Regions from separate parts of the Homo sapiens genome. Here regions 2 and 3 are each linked to region 1. Evidence: promoter capture Hi-C in 16 types of primary human blood cells and fetal thymus (Javierre and others, 2016). All regions are on one chromosome and are shown on one strand. Each heading gives the region's core, a stretch centred on a gene start or on the middle of the fragment in contact. The rest is flanking DNA. Distances are from core to core; before and after follow the strand shown.

Region 1 (2,700 bases), core at 140-2,639:
CTCTTCCATTATTTATGACATTGACTTTTCCGTAAAATAAATATATACATATTTTTAAAGTTAATTACAAACGTACAGAATGGAGAGGAGCACTTTAACAGCCATCACATGATTGGGATTTTGTTGACAGTAAACTAAAAGCTCCATGGGTCCCAACCTTTTTTTTTTTTTTTTTTTGACAGTGTCTCACTCTGTCACTAGAGTGCAGTGGCATGATCACAGCTCCCTGCGGGGTAGATCTCCTGGGCTCAAGCTATCTTCCCGCCTCAGTCTCCCGAACAGTCAGGGCTACAGGCACGTGTCACCACGCCCGGCCTGGTCCCCATAAGTCCCCTCTTCTCCGAGCCAAACATCTTCACACCTTCTGGTGATCATTAGTGGAGAGGCCTGTGAGAGGCTCTGGTGTCAATGTCCCTGAAATCGAGGGCTCCAAATTGGTCATGGCTCTCCAGATGGCCCAAACAGTTCCAGTTCACAAACATTTATTGAGCATCTACTACATTCCAGGCACTGTGGTTATTATAAATCACTGAGACACTGTTTGCCCTAAAGGAGCTACGTGTATTTGGTAACAGCTTCACAGTAAGTGACGAATAAGATAGCATTAATCCACATTTGACAGCAAAAGTACCAAAAAAGAAAGAAAGAAAAAGAAGAGAGAGAAAGGAAAGAAAAGAAAAGAAGAGAAAGAAAGAGGCCGGGTGCGGCGGCTCACGCCTGTAATTCTAGCACTCTGGGAGGCCGAGGTGGGCGGATCACGAGGTCAGGAGTTCGAGTCCAGCCTGATCAACATGGCGAAACCCCGTCTCTACTAAAAAAACATAAAAATTAGCCGGACCTGGTGGCGCCCGCCTGTAGTCCCAGCTACTCAGGAGGCTAAGGCAGGAGAATCGCTTGAACTCGGGAGGCGGAGGTTGCAGTGAGCCGAGATCTCGCCGCTGCACTCCAGCCTGGGCGACAGAGCCAGACTCTGTCTCAAAAAAAAAAAGAAGAAGAAAAGAAAAAGAAAGAAAGAAAAAGGATGGAAGGAGAGAAGAAAAGGAAAGGGGGAAGGGAAGGGGGAAGGGAAGGCGGAAGGGAAGGGAAAGAAAGAAGCGTATTTAGGCAGTATCGCGTTGATTTCAGTCCACGGAACCTCTGGTGACCGGGTAGTGTGACTCCGTCATTGGTAGCCCCCCGCCCACACAGCCGGGACTCGCGGCCTTTGAGGACGTGGGCAGGGCCAGTCTCGCCACGCCGCGGCCAATGCCCCGACCACACGCTGGCCACAGGAGTCCTGGCTCCCATTGGCTGCAGCGGGAAATGGTGAACCAATGCTCATAGACCTTAACGCCCTCCTCTCGGGATCACTTCCGCCTCTGGGGTCAGGCTCCGCCCAGCTTGCCCGGCATCACTCGCGGCATTGGAGTCAAGATGGAGGAGTACGCGCGAGAGCCTTGGTGAGCTTCACCGCTGTCTTTGCATTTCTCTTGCCCCCCTGCCCACTGCCCTCCTTCTCCCTTGTCCAGGCTCCCAAGGTGCAAGCCAGACTCAACCGCAGCCTCGTCGACTTGGGCCTGGTAACTGGGCAATGCGGTCTTTCGCGGCCAGTCGGCTTCTTAGCCCTGTACTTAGTACCTCCCCGGCCGCGTGAGCCTCCCTCTCCCAACCCAGCACCCGTGTGACCTTGTGATGGATGGTAAGGAGGTCCAGACTTGAGTTTGATAGAACCTCGGAACCTCCTCCCAACGCAGGGCGTAATCGACTTTATGCGGGGCCAGTTATAATCCCCCCTGTTCGTCGAGGTGACCTTGGGCGCGTCCCTCCGTCTCGCCTTGCTCAGTTCCTGCGTTGAGGAACTGAAGAATAGGCATTTGAGGGAGTGTCATTCTTGAGGTTTTACTTGTATCATGATATGTGTCCACAGAGTGAAGCATTTTAAATGAATGGAACATAGATTTTAGCCAAGGGGTCTGGATAAGCTTCTTTATTGCGTGGGGCCTTGTTTTCCTTCTTGGAATTCTTTCTTGAGGGTAGAGGGGGACAAAAATTACCTGGGAAATAGGAAGAGGTAATAGCATGTGTTCTCTGAAAAGCCATGGACAGAAATTCATTGTTACATCCAGCGTTTATTGAGTATGAATAAACCAGACACATAGATAATTATAAAACGATGTAATTGCTGTCAGAAGTCTCAGGTTGCCAGAGTTTAAAGTTTCTAGGGTCATAGGTAAAAAATCAAATCTTGATATTTCGGTTAATCATTTGTTTTATTGTGTAAGAGCAACAACCAAGATGTCCTCAATTTGTGAAAGTGCCCAGGACCTTAAATTACTACTCTGGTATCCTAGCCTTGTTGCATGTTTTATGTTCCCCTCTCCCATAAATGGCATACAAAATATAAGTTTTAGGGTCTCCTGGCTCTTCAAACTTATCTTCTTCAAAGCAGTTATCCTCCATTCTGGATTGTGCTCAGATATGTAGGACTCAGCACACTGTAAATAGCTGTTTGATGTACTATAATGACACAGGTTAGCAGAGAGTTAAAATATTTAACTATGTTGAGTTAAAGATCTTAGAAAAATAAGGCCGGGTGTGGTGGCTCACGCCTGTAATCCCAGCACTTTGGAAGGCCGAGGCGGATCACGAGGTCAGGAGTTCAAGACCAGCCTGGCCAGTATGGTGAAACCCCGTCTCTACTAAAAATACAAATATTAGCCG
Region 2 (2,700 bases), core at 158-2,657, 1.0 Mb after region 1:
GGGTTTCACCGTGTTGGTCAGGGTGGTCTCGAGCTCCAGGGCTCAAATAATCTACCCGCTTCGGCCTCCCAACGTGTTGGGATTACAGGCGTGAGCCATCGCGCCCGGCCCCAAGATCTTTTAAGACCGCAGCTCCAGCCTCTCCTCCCAGCGAGGTGGTCCCTGCCACTTCGACCCGCTTATATCCGAACTGGATGGGAGTTCTGCCTAAGGTAGAACCACGCTAAATTGGGGGATTGGAAATCTCTTGAGTCTGCGGGTGCTGAGCGGAGAGTGTAACGATGAACCAGAGACAGGCTCAAAGTAGAGCAGAAGGGCCTGAAGTTAATCATTGTGCAGTCACCTTAGTTTTTCAACCGGCTGAATTGCAGCAAGAGAATGGAACAGCCCAGAGGAGTCTCTTACAGGAGTGAACAGTGGCATGGCAACTTCATTTCCTTTTGACAAAAGACTGATTTTGTTTACAGCGCCAAGCCGTCAGCCTATCAGGATGATTCAGGAGCTTCCTTTGGTTTCAAAGACCAAGCTTCACATCCTGATTTGGGTTCTTGTGCCCTTAGGGTCAAAGAAGTGGGCTTTGGAGGCAGAGTGTACAGAATAAGAATCTTGCCTCTAGCACTTATTGGCTCTGTGACCTTAGATAGCTTACTCAACCTGAGTTTCTTCATCTACAGATGGATATAAGATGGATATCTACAGATGGATATATATTATTATCTACAGATAGATTGTATCTAGTTCATAGCTTTGGTGTGAGGCTTCAGTGAGATATGTTAACGTGCTTAGTGTAGTGCCTGTCATAAAGCAAAATATTCAACAGTTGGCAGCTACTATTATAACTTAAAAGACAGCACAGAGGGTCAGCTATGGTTTTAGGAATGAGCTCTGCCTGGGGCACAAGCATGGGACAGGAGGAGGCAGGAAAAAACATCAGGAGCCGCTGGAGCTACAGATTTCCCAAGATGACCATTCTTTCTCATACATGAGTTTCTCAACTAGAATGACATTTGCTCTTTGATATACCGTGATGGATGAGATCTCTGCAGATGTCAGTGTCAACATCTTAAACTAATACCATCAGGGCAGCAGGGACATTAGAGCCCCCAGTTTTCAGTTGTATTTGGTGAACTCTGTGAATGATCCAAGAGATACTTAGTTTTCCTTTTCCTCTCCACTGGCTGAAAATGTTCCTAAGACCCCAGTACATGTTCCTCTGAATTTTTTAAGCAGCCTGCACACTGACTTGAGGGAAGTGAGTGCACCAGATCATGGTGACATGCCAATCCATGCAGAGAGGGTTGAAAAGGGGAAGGAAGGGACCCTTCCTCTTTTCTGTTCCGAGAGAATGAGGCGATTATGTTCCGGTGCTTCTGACATCCCCACTGCTGGCTTGGTTAAGAAGCCACACTACTGATCCTTGCCACTGCTCCACTCTGGCTAAAGAGGTTCTAGGCCTTCCTCCCTCTAGTGGATAGATGTGGCAAGAGAGGGGGAAGTATGGAACGAAAGGAGAGCATAACTACAACTCGGGCTTCTCTCAGTGATTGCATTTTCTGAACCCCAAAGTGGCACATTCTAACAAGTGTGAGTGTATCACTGGGAACCACAGGACAGAATGGTTGGGTGTGGGCTTATCCTGGAAACTAAGTGTTGGACTCAGTAATTGTGGGAAGGCTCTTTTGCTCCTGAAAATGAATGCTGCAGGAGTGGTGGGAAGGGGCTGATGGCCTGGCAGGTCTTCCTGTCTCAGATTCTGTGGTGAATTGAACTCCACTCCACCACGACTCATGGTAATCTTACATTACTCCTAGTTTGGAGGAAAAGATAGGCATTTCTGAATTTTTATTTAACCCAATCTTTTAAGTTTAGGATTTCCTCCTGGGTATACAATAAAGAATAGAACAGGCTGGGTTCACGCCTGTAATCCCATCACTTTGGGAGGCTGGATGGATCACTTGAGCCCAGGAGTTTGAGACCAGCCTGGGCAACATGGCAAAATCCTGTCTTTACAAAAATACAAAAATTAGCCAAGTGCGATGGCGCTGGCCTGTAGTCCTAGATACTAAGGAGGCTGAGGTGGGGGTATTGCTTGAGCCTGGGAGATCAACGCTGCAGTGAGCCATGATTGCGCCACTGCACTCCAGCCTGGGCAATAGAGCAAGACCCTGTTTAAAAAAATATATATATATAATGTAGTGTGAGGGGGAAGTAGAATTTCAAACCTGTGTTTTATAATTCTGAATTAGGATGTAAAACTCAGTGGCCCTTTTTAGATAAGATATCCAGAAAGAAGCTTGGAGGAAGACTTGCTCATACTGAGGAGATGGCATGGAGGAATCAGACCAGGAGATGTAATAATGACAAAAAAATTAACATTTATTGAGCATGTGCAATATAGCAAGAACTAGGTAAATTGCTTTTCACGTATTCTGACAACATCCATTTAATCCTGACAACAACTGTGAGATAGATATTATCATTAGTAGTCTCATTTTATGGAGTGGGGGGAAACTGAAGTTTAGGACAAGTAAGTCACTTGCCCAAGATCACCTACTAAATGGCAAACTCAGACTGCATACCAGGCAGCTTGATGTTGAAAACTAACAACCTCACACCCTTTTTGAACTTTTCTTTTTTTTTTGAGACGGAGTCTTGCTCTGTCACCCAGGCTGGAGTGCAGTGGCGCAATCTCGACTCACT
Region 3 (2,700 bases), core at 1-2,500, 1.3 Mb before region 1:
TTGGTGAGAATTCCCATCTCCCCTTGTTTTCCCTCCTTCCTTCCCAGATCCAGGAGATAATCAACTAAGAGCCAGGCACCCTTTTAAGTCCAATATAAAACAATTTACAACCTGCTCTCTCTAAAGTCTATCTAAGAGCTTCCTCTGCACAATAAAACTTGGTCTCCACAATCCTTTATCTCTAGCCTGAACATTCCTTTTTATGGATCCCAGGTCTTTAGATAACCTCAACCAGATAACGTTTACATTTACCGATTGAGTTGCCCCGCCTTTCTAAACTAAACCAATGTATTTCTTAAATGTATTTGATGTCTCACGCCTTCCTAAAATAGATAAAACCAAGCTGTACCCCAATTTCCTTGGGCACATGTTCTCAGGACCTCCTGAGGACTGTCACTGGCCATGGTCACTTGAATCTGGCTCAAAATAAATCTCTTCAAATATTTTTCAGAGTTTGATTCTTTTCATCAACCCATATCTATACCTTTTTACACCAAAAACATGTCTTTGCAAAATTACAGTTATTGGGAATAAGGCTTTTAACCTAATCTGGGGACTATCAAATATACTAATAAATATTTTTCTTAAAAAAATTCTTTGTTTAAACTGCCAGATTCCAACTTCCAGAAAAATTCCAACAGAAATGCAACCGAGGGTCTAGAATTACTATCCTAAATCTCCGAAAATGTACAGGGGGTGGCGGGCGGGGCAGGGACGGCTCTAGGTGAGCAGGAAAAAGCTTGGAACTCAGTCTTCCAATGGCGAAAGGGAACGTGCTCCTGCTGGGCGGGACGGCGGACGGCTGGCGGCGGCGCGGCCTCCAATTCTCGCCAACGCGCCCCGCACCCCCGTGCACTGGCGGGCCCTCCCCTCGGGCGTTGCCTCCCACCCACGCCCGGCGGCACCGCACCCCGAGGCGCTTCACGTCACGGAGCTGCTAGGAGACGGGCGGGGCTCCGGTTCCGGGTAGAGGCCTGGGACACGGGGAACTGTAAGGATGGGAGGAAGGCCGCGCAGGGGCACCAGTTCTGCCGCCGCGGCCTAGCGCCCCAGGTCCCGGAGAAGGGGCACCAGGGCGGCCAGGGGCCCAAGCTTCCGGGGCACGCTCACCCGCGCAGGACTGAGGCCGCGTCCGCTCCCGCTCCCGCTCGGGCCGTCTCCCCCTTCCAGGCTCCAGGCCAGGCTTCCGCCCGACAAGCCCTGACCCGCTCGTCAGGACTGCGGCCCGGGGTTGGTGGTGCGGAGCGGAGCGGAGCGGAGCGTAGAGTAGAATCCACTTCCCCGGGTTTTGGGAGGGGGCCGCAGCCCGCTTTCCGGGCGGCGGGGAGGCGGGGCCACCGCGGGGGCGGAGCTCGGCTGGGAGCCGGCAGTGGCTTGGGAGGGAGGGAGGGAGAAGGAGAGGGGCGGGAAGGCTCCTCGCGTTTTCCACGCCCCCGCCCAGCTCTGGGCTGGTGGTAAATCTCGGAACTGGTCCGGGCTGGGCGAGTTCTGGACGGAGGGGCACGTTTGGGAATCCTCTTGGAAGAATTTACGTAATCGAATGGGCTGGGACTGGTGGAAAAGAGTTGGACCGTCCGGAAAGAAGCAGGAGGGCGGCGCGGGGGCCTGGCACCCTTAGAAAGTGGGAAGTGTGAGTGTAAAAGGGAGGGGCACTTCTGCCCGTTGGGCCCAAAAACCCTTTTCTGGCTTTAGCTAGTAGAGCCACTCAAAATTTAAACGGAGTCAGCTTGATGTGGCATATATGATAAGCTGGATAATATTTCCTGCACCACCGCACCCCTCCCCCCACCCCAACACCAACAAGAAAATAACACAAGTCACGGTTCTTGTTCCTTGTGGGCTGACATTTCCCTGTTTTGCCAACCTCTGGAGCCACGTGTCCCAAGCAGCTTGTAGTTGAGAAGTGATGGGGGAGAGGAGACAGCACGGGAGAGGAAGGAGGGAAGCCAGCTTATATTCAGGTGCCTTAAGTATTTAAAAATATTTTCAGTGTAATAGTCGATGCATTCAAAAGAGCATATTTACCAAATATGTAAAATTTAAAGTATGCTAATGAAACTATCACTCCACCACGTTATCAGTATTTAGCATGTATCTATGCATCTCCAGGATTCTACTCCTGGCCTCTTAGCTCACCACCACTATCTTCAGTTTTGTCCCTCTTTGCCATTTTTAGTGGTTTTATCATATTTGGATGCATTCCTGTGTATTGGTGTATTTTTCTTCTTTTTGAGCTTTATAAAAATACATATAGCCTGGAATTCGCTTTTTATCACTCAACATTTGTTTTTTTGGTTCATCCAAGTTGTTACGTGTAGTAACAGAACATTTATTTCTTACTGCCTAGTCAAAAGGAAGTTTTCTCCTGTCAGGAATGTATTCAATACTGTAGCGGATAGGATTATAAATGCACTTTAAGTATTTTCTTTATTGATGGGAACCACACAGACTAAATGTATCAGACTTCCCAAGTTCGTAGGTCACATACCTATAACAGAACTCTTTTCCTGGGTTTTGTGACATTTCTAATTGTTGTAATTTCTTTTGCCATTATAAAAATTAGTCACTTTTGAACCTAATTTGTATTCATCATTCTGAATCTTTTTCTTTAAAAGCCTCCTCTTTTCCAATTATATAAGCTCATACCCCATAAAACCTGAATCTGCCCCTAGTAATTACTAATAAGGCTAGTAGGAGCAT

Evidence for each region. Contacts are between HindIII fragments. The CHiCAGO score rates a contact against its expected background, and 5 or more counts as called.
Region 2: a fragment that was not itself captured here is called in contact with the fragment with the promoter of TIMM17A in region 1 in 3 of 17 cell types (fetal thymus, non-activated CD4 T cells and total CD8 T cells); the score reaches 6.8 in fetal thymus.
Region 3: the fragment with the promoter of DDX59 here is called in contact with the fragment with the promoter of TIMM17A in region 1 in 2 of 17 cell types (fetal thymus and naive CD8 T cells); the score reaches 8.0 in fetal thymus.

Annotation. Positions count from the first base shown.
Region 1 is chr1:201,954,114-201,956,813 of GRCh38, forward strand. It overlaps TIMM17A (translocase of inner mitochondrial membrane 17A), which reads left to right and starts at 1,390. Exons shown (of 6, transcript NM_006335.3): 1 at 1,390-1,439. The coding sequence starts at 1,414. RefSeq lists an enhancer at 1,379-1,668. The HindIII fragment of the contact is 2,275 bases long and covers 1-1,959 here.
Region 2 is chr1:202,967,707-202,970,406 of GRCh38, forward strand. No RefSeq gene overlaps it. Among named protein-coding and RNA genes, the nearest start is that of CYB5R1, 1.8 kb to the left of the region's middle. RefSeq lists a silencer at 355-649. The HindIII fragment of the contact is 1,767 bases long and covers 525-2,291 here.
Region 3 is chr1:200,668,657-200,671,356 of GRCh38, forward strand. It overlaps DDX59 (DEAD-box helicase 59), which reads right to left and starts at 1,251. Exons shown (of 8, transcript NM_001031725.6): 1 at 1,111-1,251. DDX59-AS1 (DDX59 antisense RNA 1) reads left to right here and starts at 851. Exons shown (of 3, transcript NR_110787.1): 1 at 851-966. RefSeq lists a silencer at 665-1,404. The HindIII fragment of the contact is 3,439 bases long and covers 1,091-2,700 here.